Regions from separate parts of the Homo sapiens genome. Here region 2 is linked to region 1. The links are contacts of gene promoters, found by promoter capture Hi-C in blood cells and fetal thymus (Javierre and others, 2016). All regions are on one chromosome and are shown on one strand. Each heading gives the region's core, a stretch centred on a gene start or on the middle of the fragment in contact. The rest is flanking DNA. Distances are from core to core; before and after follow the strand shown.

Evidence for each region. The method cuts DNA at HindIII sites, captures the fragments that hold promoters and counts their contacts. A CHiCAGO score of 5 or more calls a contact.
Region 2: the fragment with the promoter of OR4D11 here is called in contact with the fragment with the promoter of DTX4 in region 1 in 3 of 17 cell types (M1 macrophages, monocytes and M2 macrophages); the score reaches 8.5 in M1 macrophages.

The regions. Positions count from the first base shown.
Region 1 is chr11:59,167,823-59,175,149 of GRCh38, forward strand. It overlaps DTX4 (deltex E3 ubiquitin ligase 4), which reads left to right and starts at 4,310. Exons shown (of 9, transcript NM_015177.2): 1 at 4,310-4,984. The coding sequence starts at 4,774. LOC124902601 (basic proline-rich protein-like) reads right to left here and starts at 5,623. Exons shown (of 2, transcript XM_047427951.1): 1 at 5,443-5,623; 2 at 2,253-4,908. The coding sequence starts at 5,623. The coding sequence ends at 4,100. It overlaps LOC124902675 (a long non-coding RNA gene), which reads right to left. Exons shown (of 4, transcript XR_007062682.1): 4 at 5,877-6,675. RefSeq lists enhancers at 3,447-3,987, 4,074-4,368, 4,996-5,824, 5,267-5,376 and silencers at 4,247-4,816, 4,877-4,926, 7,074-7,143. The HindIII fragment of the contact is 13,201 bases long and covers 1,535-7,327 here.
Region 2 is chr11:59,502,271-59,509,482 of GRCh38, forward strand. It overlaps OR4D11 (olfactory receptor family 4 subfamily D member 11), which reads left to right and starts at 1,306. Exons shown (of 1, transcript NM_001004706.1): 1 at 1,306-2,241. The coding sequence starts at 1,306. The coding sequence ends at 2,241. The HindIII fragment of the contact is 7,711 bases long and covers 1-2,999 here.

The sequences.
Region 1 (7,327 bases), core at 3,060-5,559:
CTGGCTTTTTCTCTTGCCTCTCGTTTATTTGGAAACTAACTTCTGTGTTGTGAGAATGCCCATCAATCACATGGACAGGCCATGTGTAGGTACTTGGGCTGATAGCCCTAGTTGAGTGCCCAGATAACAGCCAGTATCAAGCAGTAGACTTATGAATGAGCAAACCTACAGATGATTCCAGCCACCTGCTTTCCTGAGAGCTCCCTTGAGCTAATGCTGTGTGTAGCAAAGACCAGCTGTCCTTGGAAGCCCTCCCCAAAGTGCAGATGTGTTTGAAAAATAAACGCTTGCTGCTGTTTTTAGCCACCAGTTTTAGGGTGCTTTATTACATAATAATAGGTAATTGAAAAAAAAAAGGGCTTTGTCTATGAACATTCCACAGAAAAAGAAGAGAAGCGGCTTTTTCACTGAATCTTTGTGTTAGACAATGACGACCTTTTTTGAAGTATCATCAAATTGTACCTTTGAACAGTTCAAAACTGGCTTCATAGTCTCAATTAGTGAGGTTTTATTATAGCCATCATATGTTCAAATTAAAAATTTGGCATATCATTTGGTTAAAGATTTTTATGCCACTTATGAGTACAGGAGACAATTTGGGAGATATAGTTTGGATACTAAAATGGAATGTCGGCCAGGCACGGTGGCTCATGCCTGTAATCCCAGCACTTTGGGAGGCCAAGGCGGGCGGATCACCTGAGTCCGGAGTTCGAGACCAGCCTGGCCAACATGGTGAAACCCCATCTCTACTAAAACTACAAAAATTAGCCGGGCCTGGTCACAGGCACCTGTAATCCTAGCTACTGGGGAGGCTGAGGCAGGAGAATCGCTTGAACCTGGGAGGAGGAGGTTGCAGTGAGCCGAGATCATGCCATTGCACTCCAGCCTAGGGGACAAGAGCAAGATTTTGTCTCAAAAAATAAATAAATAAATAAAATGGAATTTCTGAGATTTTCAGGGTTTATGGTACAGATTATTTGAAATTAGGATTGTGTTAGAAGATCTAAGAAATGTATATACATATATAATAATTATTTATACATAATTATAAATTATTATTTCTAATTGGGTCATGATAAACTATAAATTATCATGGATTATTAAAATACAAATATTTTACATCTATAATTTACTATTAATGTCAAGTCATACACACACAAACACGAGGGGACTTCCAAAAGTTTGTGAAAAATAAAATTAAAAAACAAAATAAAAAATGTACACTTTATTTCTCAACATAAGCACCATCAAGTTCAAGATATTTTGTAGGTGATGATATGAATCATTTAGTCCATCACTAAAGAACTGAGTGTCCTGGGACCCTAACCATATCAATGCAGTTTTACTTTACTATAGAAAAACAGATGCTCTTTAAAAAATTTTTTAAGATTAGGAAACAAAAAGAAGTCAGAGGAGCCAAATCAGGACTGTACAGCAGATTAAAAGATTTTCCATCAAATTGCTCACAAAAGTGCGTTTGTTTGATGAGAGGAATGAGCATGAACATTGCCATGGTGGAGAACGACTCTGGTGAAGCTTTCCCAGGTATTTTATCCTAAAGCTGTTGCTAATTTTTGCAAAATACTCTCATATTAGGCAGATGTTATTGTTCTCTGGCCCTCCAGAAAGTCAGTAAGTAAAATGCCTTGAGCATCTCCAAAAAATTGTTGCCATGGTCTCTGCTTTTGACCAGTGCACTTTTGCTTTGACTGGACCACTTCTACCTCTTGATAGCCATTGCTTTGGTTGTTCCTTGTCATCAGGATTATACTGGTAATGTTTCATCTCCTGTTACAATTCTTCAAAGAAATGTTTCATGATCCTGATCCCACCCATTTAAAATCTCTATTGAAAGGCCTGCTCTTGTCTGTGGCCAACCTGGGTGCAATGGTTTTGGCACCTATCAAGGAATGGAAAGTTTAATTTCTTTGTCAGAATTGTGTAAGCTGAACCAGTTGACATATCTATGGTGTAGGCTATTGTTTTGACTGCTAATCCTTGATCCTCTTCAGTAAGGGCATTGTCTTACCCTTCTTAGTGTCTCAAACTAGATCCTGTTCAGACATGTTATAACAAGTTAGTATGAGTTTATTTGGGTGCAAAAAAACAATTTGAACTACCAGCCTAGTTTTTTCATAATATGCATTTTCCATAAAATTTTAAAGACCCCTCTCATTTGTGTGTATATGTGTGTATGTGTGTGTGTGTATTCACTTCCTCTTGCAAATGAATCAGACTACATACAAACCTTCTCACATGTCATAAGATATTTTTATTCTGCTGTAATACTCTGTTGTGTTTAACATGGAAGATACAAGAAGACCAGATACAAAACTAGGCTGGACATAGGCAGGTAGGCGTCAGTTTCCTTCTGCCTTCCATTCGCCTTTCAAACAGCTCATCTAACATTTGCTGGTAGCCTGCTTATCTAGTTTAGATTTTTTTCACCTTGGAATTTCTGGCTTAGCTGGTCAGGTGCTATATTTTCGCTGGTACTTCCAATATCCCCTTGAATCATTACTCTTCACTTTTTGATTCATACTTACCAAGACTATAAGAAAGTTTCCTGAGTTTTGATACTTTCCATTTTTATGACTAGAAATAAAAGTAGCCCAATAAATTTTTAAATTACTTTTTCTTCAGTTTGCCTTCTGTTTCTTTTCCAGAAAATTCTACCCCCATTTTCTCCCTTCCCTTCTTTCACACTGAGACACTTCTACATTGCCTGTTATTGTGCCACCTCTGTGTTGTATAGGACATGCTATGGAACAGGCATTTTCTTTTGAGACAGCCCAACTAAATTTTGAATACTGGTTTCCCCTCTAACTAGCTATGTAATCTAGGGCAAATAGTTTAAATTCCTTAAGTCCTGTCATTTGTAAAATGGTAATAATAATGGCCTATGATATAATTAGTCGAGGTATCCTTGTTTTCTTTTTGTTCTTCTAATTCTGAAACTCGACATTTTAATGAGTGGTATTGTTTAGGTTGGATTAGGAACAGTCCCCAAATAAGGGAGAGGCCGACTAGGCATTTTGGAGGCCAAGCTGTGCAAGAAGACCAGAAAGAACAAAGCTCAGAGGTTCCTTGAGCCTGGTGCCTTTAGGGGCCTGAAGAAGAACAGATCTCACACTTTTTCTTTTGCTTTGTATTTAGAACTCTGTTGGGAGAAAGATAAAGGTAGAAGGATGCAAAATTCTAACAATGGGAGAAATGACAGCTGCAAGGAGAGGGAGGGGGAAGCAACTCTTCTAAAACATAAAAGGGTCATATGATATTTATGAAAAAATTGATTATTTCAAAAAGATTCACAATCCCATTCTCTAACACATAATCTATTTTTACTTTCCCGCATCCTATAACTTGGATCTTGATAAGACTCGATTCGTTGTTTTATGTGGTTTGCAATCTCAACAAAACAAAATTTGTGTTCTTTGACAAGGATAATGCATAATCCTGACTTCAGTCTTCCCTTTTAGTCAGAACCTACCTATTTAAGGTTATTTTCCATATTAACTATTGATGATCAAAATAAGTCTAACTCGTGTTTTTCCTAGTGTTTCATAATTTTAGTTACAGAAACGATGCAGATAAAATTAATCTAACATGCGTCTTCCTGACTCTAGTACGTTGAATCTGGCCAGAAAAACCACATTTGCTCTCTACGTAGGTAATATAAATCCATCATTAGCGAAATTGCTGCATCCCTTTGGACTGGGTCTCATTAGCAGAGGTTGGAGTGGCCACTGGCCGGCACACGACACTTTAGGCCAGCAGGGGGCGGGTAAGCTCCAGGGCACTCGCCCGAGCAGCAGGGGGCGTGTCTTCTGCTTCCTTGACGGACAGCTAAGGATGCGGGAGAGGATGAGGTAATAGGAGCCGGGGCAAGGAAGGAGTTGGGGTGCGCGCGCGTGTGTGTGCGACTGTGAGTGTGCCAGTGCGTGCGCAAGCCCCGAGACAATGCGTGTCTCCAGTTCGCGCTGCGGACACTGATCATGCTGCATTAAGGAAAAAAAAAGAGAGAGAGAGAGAAAATTACATTTGGGGGAAGGAGGCTGCAAAGTTGCGGCTGGGCGACAGTGGTGGTCCCGGGGCCGTGTCATGGCGGGTCGCTTCTCTGCATCAAGGAACCAGGGAAACACACGCGGGCGCGGGTTTGCCTTAGCGCCCTGCTTGGGAGGGGTGGTTCATTCTGGAAGGAACTGAGCAGAGCCACAGGCAGGGGGAGCTCTCCCAGCGGCGGGGACTGCAATTCGTGCGGCGAAGGGGTGGGGAGGGAGGGAGAGAGGGGAGGGGACCAGAGCGTGCCATTCCGAGCGCGGCCGTGCGGCGAGATCCCACCCCGGCGTCTGCAGAGGCCGAGGCGCAACTGGTGCGAGGGCTGGGTCCTTGCCTCGCCGTCAGCCCCAGCTCGCGGCCGCCGGGGCTCGGGCCGCGCGCCCGCCGAGTGGCTTTTGCAAGGCGGGGGCCTGTTTGCAGAGAGCCGGGCATTTGCATGAAGCGACTCGACCCCACAGAGCAGCGGCAGCAGCAGCGGACCCCGGCGGCGGCGGCGGCGCGCGGTCCCAGCCAGGCGGCCCCGGTGTCCCGGCCCCGGTGGATGCACGGCTGGGGAGGAGCCCATGGGCCGGAGCTGAGGCTGCCCGGGGCGGCGGGGCGCGGGGCAGGGGGCGCGGTCGAGGCCCGGAGGCGGCGGCGCAGGAGGAAGCGGAGGAGGTCGGGCGCTCGGGGCCCGGGAGGCGGGCCGCGCAGCGCCGCAGCCCCGGGCTCGCCATGCTCCTGGCCTCGGCCGTGGTGGTCTGGGAATGGCTGAACGAGCACGGCCGCTGGCGTCCCTACAGCCCAGCGGTGAGCCACCACATCGAGGCGGTGGTCCGCGCCGGCCCCCGCGCGGGGGGCAGCGTGGTGCTGGGCCAGGTGGACAGCCGTCTCGCGCCCTACATCATCGACCTGCAGTCCATGAACCAGTTCCGCCAAGACACGGGTGAGCCAGCCGCCCCTGACCCCGCCCCGCCTGCTCCCACCTTCCCAACCTGCCAAGGTACCTCCCTCCCTGTGAACCCACCTTGGCCACCTAGTCGGCACTTCTGTGCAGCAGTGTCACCAAGAGGTGGTGGTGGGAGGCGATTCACTCCGCTGAATCCTCGCAGGATCCTCCCTCCCCCTTAAACATCCATGCAAATAGTATCAGTGTTGTGGTTTTGCAAACCCAGCTTCAACCTAGTCGGTAACAATCCACTCCCCACCCCTTTCATGCCCCCGCTTTTCAGCAGTTGGTGGCCCTAAGTCTTTCTATGTAGAAATTCTAGGGCCGCCCCAGACTACAGGCAATCCCAGCCCTTCGCAAAGGCTTCCTGCCCTCATCCCGTGGCGGCCGGCACCTTGGCTGACCTGACCCTGTTTTGCTTCAGGCACGCTGGGGCTTGCCACACGTCCCCTCACCCCCGATCTCACTGCCTCTGCGTCTCCTGTGTGGGATGCCTCCCCGCAGCTGGGTCCTGGGTGTGGGAACTGGGGGAGGAAGAAGGGATTCCCCGGAGGTTCTCGCTACAGTCGGGTAAGGGAAGCGCCGGGCTCCCTGGGAGGAGAGACTAGGGCTGGGGTACCCTGGACGCCGCGGCATTGGCGAATGCCTCTGCTACACACTACATGCGCGGAAGCAACAGGCCGGAGCAGATGGAGAGAGGAGGGGGAGGCTCGGGGCTTCGGAATGCATGGCAGGGAAGCCGCTCCCTTTGTCTGCGGAGGAGGAGGACGCAGATTCCTAAGGAGAAACTGTCCCCAGGCTTCCTCTTGAAACCATAGCCTGTAAGGAACCCATGGTCTCCTGGAGCGCCAAACTCCTATCTTTTCATGAGAATCAAGTTGTCACTGTAGCCAGCACAAACCCGCTTCCCAGCTGACCTGCCTTTCCAGGTCAGAGCCAGGAAGGGAGCCTCCAGGATGGGGCCTTGGGGGGTGGGGAGTGGGGGTGCTGCCCAAGGGAGAGCAAAACTGCCTCTCTTTGCTCGGTCCTTGCTTAATCGATGACCCGGGAAGAGTTTCTGCCTCCGTCAGTGACAGGTGGGGAGGGGGCCATTGTTTCTGGAATTCTGGCTCGGCTTTCCCAAGAGTGCAACCGAGGAGCCTGGAGAGGCCGGTGTGCTGGGGAGGACGTAGAGAAGATGACTCGGAAAGGCCCTCCCCAGTGAACAGCTGTTTGAGCAGAGTCTCTCTGCTTCCTTGGAAAGCCCCCACATCCTGTGTGCTAATTAGGATTGTCATGGGAAAGGGGTATCTTTCCACCCTCATGTCCCCATCTTTAGTCATAACTCCCAGCAACCCCTTTGCCAAGGACTCTGCAGACACTGGCTGATTGAGGAGAGCTTTCTGGGGAGAGGATTCTGGAAGTGTTAGAATCTGGAGGGGCTTCAACCGTGTGTGGAGCTGAGGGAGACTGGGAGGAGCAGAGAATAGAGAGGAATGTGGGGAGATTGAGAAAGAGGATTAAGTGTGGCTGAGGGGGAGGGAGAGAATGTCATTGCGCAACTTGGGTAAAGGTTGTGGAGGTGAGGGTGGAGGCATCAGAAGGTGAGGGTGGAGGGGGTGTGTGTTGGGCGGAGCTGAGCCACGGAGGTGGGACCAGAGAGAGAGAGAGAGACCAGCAGTTAAAGCATCTGACAGGGGATTCCAGTCCTGGAAAAAAAAAAAAGCAGGTGTTACCTTTTCTATTTCAGAGTAAATCTCTACAGCATTTGGAAAACCACCCTTGTGACAGAAACGTCTCAGCCCCTTTCCCACATTTGGAAAGGGCAAAGGTGGAATCTGTGTTTGGGGGTACTTAGGATAGGCAAGGTATCTACAAAGGTTCATGACCCTTTCTACAGAAGCGAAGTTGTAGAGAAAACTGGGTGGAAGGAAAGAAGCTACGTTTCCCAGGTCTGATCACTCTTACCTGAGGACTGCCTGGTGGTGAGCAATTTAGTCAGAGGCTGGCGCTCCCTGGACTTTAAACCTCAGGCAGAGAACTTGCCCTGAATCATTTTAAAGGCTGCCTCAGGGTGTGTTTATCATCAGACTGCTGTGGTTTCATCCGCTCATTGCTAGAGTCAGTCAGCCATCCTGAATACCTCTCTGCTGTGCGCCAGGCCCTGTGCTGGGTGCTGCGGACACTGGGCTGAATTCCCAGAAAAGCTGGGTCTGTCAGGGCGCTTGTCAAAGAAGAATAGAAGAATCTCTGGGTTTCTTAGCTCTGAGCCCCCTCCTCTCCCTTCTCCACCAACACACTCATAGTTCCTCTCAATCTCATTGATGAGGCCATGACAGGGTAGGAACTTTAAACCAGTGG
Region 2 (7,212 bases), core at 56-2,555, 330 kb after region 1:
AGACAAGAAGAAAATACAAATAGTAGAATTTCACTTATAGAATATTATAGAAAATACAAACTAATGTATAATGACAGAAAGCAGATCAGTTGTTGCCTGAAGAAGGAAGGGTAAAGGGGACAGGCTACAAAGGGGCACAAGGACATTTTCTGGGTGATAGATATATTCACTCTCTTAACTATAGAGATGGTGTCACAGGTATATATGTCAAAACTTATCAGCCGGGAGCAGTGGCTCATGCCTGTAATCCCAGCACTTTGGGAGGCCGAGGTGGGTGGATCACAAGGTCAGGATTTCGAGACCAGCTGGGCCAATATGGTGAAACCCTGTCTTTACTGAAAATACAAAAATTAGCCAGGCGTGGCGGCACACGCCTTTAATCCCAGCCACTCAGGAGGCTGAGGTGGGAGAATCACTTGAACCTGGGAGGCAGAGGTTGCAGTGAGCCGAGATCACGCCACTGCACTCCAGCCTGGGCGACAGAGTAAGACTCTGTCTCAAAAAAAAAAAAAAACATTATCGAAGTGTGAATTCAAATATGTGCAGTCTATGGTATGTCAATGATAGCTCAACAAAAATTATTTTTTAAGAAAGAAATTGAAACAACAGAAGAGAAGCTCTGAGTAATATTTTTATTTCCATTGCTAAGGAGCTATTCACCACCCCGGGGTTTCAGTACCTAAAGTAGATTAAAGTAAAGAAAGAAACAAAGCAGTCCCCTTAAAGAAGAATAGAGCAATAGAAACAAATTTTATGGCTTAAACATTTTCTAATTTTTCATGGAAATAAGTTTGTGATTTAAGAAGAGAGGGGTGCTGCTTCCATACAATTCAATCCAGTGGGGGGCCTCTTTGCAGACAGGGGTTCTTAGAACCATTTAAATGGAGCATCCAGTCTGGGAAAAAACAACAAAATCCTCAGCCCTGTGAAACTCAAGGTGTTCTAGTCACACAAAGTAAGCACTGCCTTATTCTCACAACAAACTAATCCCATTTTTATATTTCCCATGCCACAATAGTCTCTTTCTAAATAATTAATATCCCCCTCTGTTTATCTTGAATAATGTCCTAAGTATCTTGAATAACTGCAACATTATTTTTATACATTTTTTAAAATTGTAATTTATATAAGTGTATGCATGATTGTATAATAAGATGTCATTTTACATGCATTGGCAATAAACTTGAAATTGTAATATCTCACAAGTTTTCAGACCTAATACTTGAATCTGTTAAGAGAGAGTAAACACTTTCTGAAATAACATTATTTTTTCCAAGATATTCAGGAAAGAGAAAACATGATTCAATGGAGTTGGGAAATGTCACCAGAGTAAAAGAATTTATATTTCTGGGACTTACTCAATCCCAAGACCAGAGTTTGGTCTTGTTTCTTTTTTTATGTCTTGTGTACATGACGACTCTGCTGGGAAACCTCCTCATCATGGTCACCGTGACCTGTGAGTCTCGCCTTCACACCCCCATGTACTTCCTGCTCCGCAATCTAGCCATCCTTGACATCTGCTTCTCCTCCACAACTGCTCCTAAAGTCTTGCTGGACCTTCTGTCAAAGAAAAAGACCATATCCTATACAAGCTGCATGACACAGATATTTCTCTTCCACCTCCTTGGTGGGGCAGACATTTTTTCTCTCTCTGTGATGGCGTTTGACTGCTACATGGCCATCTCCAAGCCCCTGCACTATGTGACCATCATGAGTAGAGGGCAATGCACTGCCCTCATCTCTGCCTCTTGGATGGGGGGCTTTGTCCACTCCATCGTGCAGATCTCCCTGTTGCTGCCTCTCCCTTTCTGTGGACCCAATGTTCTTGACACTTTCTACTGCGATGTCCCCCAGGTCCTCAAACTCACTTGCACTGACACTTTTGCTCTTGAGTTCTTGATGATTTCCAACAATGGCCTGGTCACTACCCTGTGGTTTATCTTCCTGCTTGTGTCCTACACAGTCATCCTAATGACGCTGAGGTCTCAGGCAGGAGGGGGCAGGAGGAAAGCCATCTCCACTTGCACCTCCCACATCACTGTGGTGACCCTGCATTTTGTGCCCTGCATCTATGTCTATGCCCGGCCCTTCACTGCCCTCCCCACAGAAAAGGCCATCTCTGTCACCTTCACTGTCATCTCCCCTCTGCTGAACCCTTTGATCTACACTCTGAGGAACCAGGAAATGAAGTCAGCCATGAGAAGACTGAAGAGAAGACTCGTGCCTTCTGAAAGGGAATAGAAAACAAATCCAGGCCAGGCGCGGTGGCTCACAGCTGTAACCCCAGCACTTTGGGAGGCCAAGGCGGGTGGATCATGAGGTCAAGAGATCGAGACCATCCTGGCCAACATGGTGAAACCCTGTCTCTACTAAAAATACAAAAATTAGCTGGGCATGATGGTGCGCACCTGTAGTCCCAGCTACCAGGAGGCTGAGGCAGGAGAATTACTTGAACCCAGGAGGCAGAGGTTGCAGTGAGCCAAGATTGCGTCACTGCATTCCAGCCTGGCAACACAGCAAGACTCCATCTCAAAAAAAAAAAAAAAAAGAGGCCGGGCGCGGTGGCTCATGCCTGTAATTTTTTTGGGAGGCCGAGGCGGGCAGATCACGAGGTCAGGAGATCGAGACCATCCTGGTTAACACGGTGAAACCTCGTCTCTACTAAAAATACAAAAAATTAGCTGGGCGTGGTGGCAGGCGCCTGTGGTCCCAGCTACTCGGGAGGCTGAGGCAGGAGAATTACTTGAACCCAAGAGGCAGAGGTTGCAGTGAGCCGAGATCGCGCCACTGCATTCCAACCTGGTAACACAGTGAGACTCTGTCTCAAAAAAAAAAAAAAAGAAAAGAAAACAAATTCAGCTCTTCATCACCAAGGACACCTTATATTATTTTTCCCATGAATTCACATTTACATACTCAGATACATTGTCAGTAAACCAACTATACTGACTATGAACAATTTGTCTTCCTATTTCAGTTAGTAGATAACTGATAACCTAAGCTTCTGTGCAGCATGAACTAACTAGTGTTATAGGAGTGAACTGACTGTTACTTTTCCAAAGACCAAGTAACCTTATGTCAATCAAGACAGCTATATGGCAGGCAGATAAGATGATTAAGTCCAACATTTTTTTCAGAAGATAAGGAAATAAAAGCCCAGAGAGATAAAGTGATGTGTTCAAGGTCTTATATTAAGTTAATTACAGAGACATCTTCAGATGCTCAACCCATTGTTCTTCCACCACATGAATGTAATTTATTACATTGTTGGACCTGTCTATACCAAACTATAATCCTGTTCCAGAAGGATCTCATGATCAATGCCTCTGGAGTACATATATGTGGGTATGCATAGCCTATTGCAGATTGAGAAATTGGCCTCTGCTGAATTAAACTAAAGTGGGCTCATGAGCTACTGAGAACTTCATAGGAACATAATGGTTATCCTCCTGGATTCCTATCAAGATTGATGAGGCTTGGGAAGATTTCTCATCATGGCCTAAAGGTATATATCTTAATGCAGAACTAGACATGCCACACATTCTCATGATGAGTTTGGATAAAGGCAAAACTTCAGAAACCACACACATGAAGCAATTTATCTCTACCATCAAAGGACCGATTTTCCAGTTGCAGCCTTACAAGGGTCAGTTTTGCCTTGGCCTCACCATTGAGAATTCACATTTCTTTTCACTGGAAAGAGAGAATGGGAGAGTTTAAGAAGAAAAAACTCTACCCGGTCTATTTTTTCAAACTTCTAGTGTTTGTGAAGAGGCAGTATAGGCTAGTGTTATTATCTGGGAGAGCAGTAAAGCATGGTGGATGAAAGCTCTAATTTCAGAGTCATACAGACCCAGGTATGAATCCTATCTCTGCCATCCACCAGCTGTGCGATCTTGAGCAAGTTATTTCACCTCTCTCTCCAAAGGTCATAGTTCACCTACGCAAAGATTCTCGTTATAATATCCATCTCATGAGGTTGTTGTAAAGGACAAAATGAGATGGTATACATGAAATATATGATACCTGGCAGAGAATAAATGTGCAACCAAAGATAAATGTCATTATTAATATCACCTTTATTGCTTTACCTAACACGCCTTCTGTTTCCCATTGGCCTGTAACACCCTTTTCCTATATGACCCATACTCCTTATTTTTAGATAAAAACTGGTTGAGTAGAAAACATGAAAATGTATATTGAGTTCAAAACATCCATCATGTTAAAATGTCTAGCTTTCTTTTTTTTTTAACAAAAGAAAAGTTTAAAAAGGAAGAAATCATACAGATAACACAATTGTCCACATTGTCAAGAAAATATAGAAAAATACTCTTAGGACTAATAAATGACTTCTGCAAGGTCTTAGGATACAAGACCAATGTACAGAGATCAATCATATTTCTGTATACCGACAATAAACATGTGCAAACCAAAATTAAAAACAACACCATTAATAGTCACTAAAAATGAAATACTTAGTTATAAACAACAAAAAAATGTATAGACTGTGTATGCTGGAAATTACAAAATGTTGATGAAAGAAATCAATCAAGACCTAAACAAGTGGAGAAGCATACTGTGTTCATGGACTGGATGATTCAACATAGTAAAGATCCCAATTCTCCCAAAATGTATAAGTTTAATGCAATTCTTACCGAAGTCCCAGGAAAGCTTTTTTGTAAACTTTTTTTTTTTTACAATTTAATCTTTTATTTTTATTTACATTTTATGTAGAATGCTTATAACTAGAAAGAAAGGTTTCTTTTTTATATATACTTTAAGTTTTAGGGTACATGTACACATTGTGCAGGTTAGTTACGTATGTATACATGTGCCATGCTGGTGCGCTGCACCCACTAACTCGTCATCTAGCATTAGGTATATCTCCCGACGCTATCCCTGCCCCCCCCACCCCACAACAGTCCCCAGAGTGTGATATTCCCCTTCCTGTGTCCATGTGATCTCATTGTTCAATTCCCACCTATGAGTGAGAATATGCGGTGTTTCGTTTTTTGTTCTTGCGATAGTTTACTGAGAATGATGATTTCCAATTTCATTCATGTCCCTACAAAGGACATGAACTCATCATTTTTTATGGCTGCATAGTATTCCATGGTGTATATGTGCCACATTTTCTTAATCCAGTCTATCATTGTTGGACATTTGGGTTGGTTCCAAGTCTTTGCTATTGTGAATAATGCCGCAATAAACATACGTGTGCATGTGTCTTTATAACAGCATGATTTATAGTCCTTTGGGTTTATACCCAGTAATGGGATGGCTGGGTCAAATGGTATTTCTAGTTCTAGATCCCTGAGGAATCGCCACACTGACTTCCACAATGGTTGAACTAGTTTACAGTCCCACCAACAGTGTAAAAGTGTTCCTATTTCTCCACTTCCTCTCCAGCACCTGTTGTTTCCTGACTTTTTAATGATCGCCATTCTAACTGGTGTGAGATGGTATCTCATTGTGGTTTTGATTTGCATTTCTCTGATGGCCAGTGATGATGAGCATTTTTTCATGTGTTTTTTGGCTGCATAAATGTCTTCTTTTGAGAAGTGTCTGTTCATTTCCTTTGCCCACTTTTTGATGGGGTTGTTTGTTTTTTTCTTGTAAATTTGTTTGAGTTCACTGCAGATTCTGGATATTAGCCCTTTGTCAGATGAGTAGGTTGCGAAAATTTTCTCCCATTTTGTAGGTTGCCTGTTCACTCTGATGGTAGTTTCTTTTGCTGTGCAGAAGCTCTTTAGTTTAATTAGATCCCATTTGTCAATTTTGGCTTTTGTTGCCATTGCTTTTGGTGTTCTAGACATGAAGTCCTTGCCCATGCCTATGTCCTGAATGGTAATGCCTAGGTTTTCTTCTAGGGTTTTTATGGTTTTAGGTCTAACGTTTAAGTCTTTAATCCATCTTGAATTGATTTTTGTATAAGGTGTAAGGAAGGGATCCAGTTTCAGCTTTCTACATATGGCTAGCCAGTTTTCCCAGCACCTTTTATTAAATAGGGAATGCTTTCTATTATCAAAACATGACAATAGGTTTGCTTGTTATTCATAAGGCTTAAAGAGTCGCCCTGGGCAGGCACAGTGGCTCATGTCAGTAATCCCAGCACTTTGGGAGGCCGAGGAGGGCAGATCACCTGAGGTCAGGAGTTCAAGACCAGCCTGCCCAACATAGTGAAACCCCATCTCTACTAAAAACACAGACACAAAAAGTAGCCGGGCATCGTGGTGGGCACCTGTAATCCCAGCTACTCAGGAGGCTGAGGCAGGAGAATCATTTGAACCTGGGAGGCAGAGGTTGCAGTGAGGCAAGATTGTGCCATTGCACTCCAGCCTAGGCGACAGAGCGAGACTCTGTCTCACGAAAAAAAAAAAAAAAAAGTCACCCTGAAGCTGATGAGAGAAACAGCACAGGAGAATTTAATATCAAAAGAAGATAATGGGTCAAAAATAAACCCTGGCTTATAGAGTAGCCAAGAGGACAGGCCCCATGGGATGGAACAGAGAGCCCAAGGAGAGTAAATTAGCCAAAGGATAATGAATGTTGAAGGATAGTGAATGTTGAAGACAAACTTTACTTAAGTCCCTCATTGGATCTGGCCTGGCCCTGTAAGCATTCATGAACTAACTGGCTCAAATGTTTGCCACTTCCTGTCACCTGATCAACAAAACCTAACTTCTTACAATATTAACTTACTTCTGCAAGCAAACAGATTCTAATAAAAAGTCACACTTGCCAGATCACTATTCATAGGGTCCTGCTACCTTTGCCCAAGTAGCTTTGGTCTCAAGAGTCCCTAGGCTTTTCTTTATGAAATTGCTTATGAAAAATACACACTACAAGCCACTTAATAGCCCATTTCACGCAAATCCGTCCTTTGCCCTTTTCTTTCTTTCCTAACTCTTGTGACTCACTCAGATCAAGTTTTTATCTCTATATCAGAATCAGATGACTCCACAGATCTATAGGGCCTGATTAAGAAACACAATCCCAAGAGATCAAGAACCCAGGAACTCTTGGCATATCATTGTCCCTGTTGACTTCCTCATGACCGTGTCTAAACATGCAACATAACCTGATTCAATAACTCAGGACAGAAAAAGCAATTGCATCTGATCACACAAACACTTATTGGCAGTGACATAAAATCACAAGTTGAGCAGCATTTTTCCCACTTACATTAGTTTTGACTAGTTTTTGTTTGTT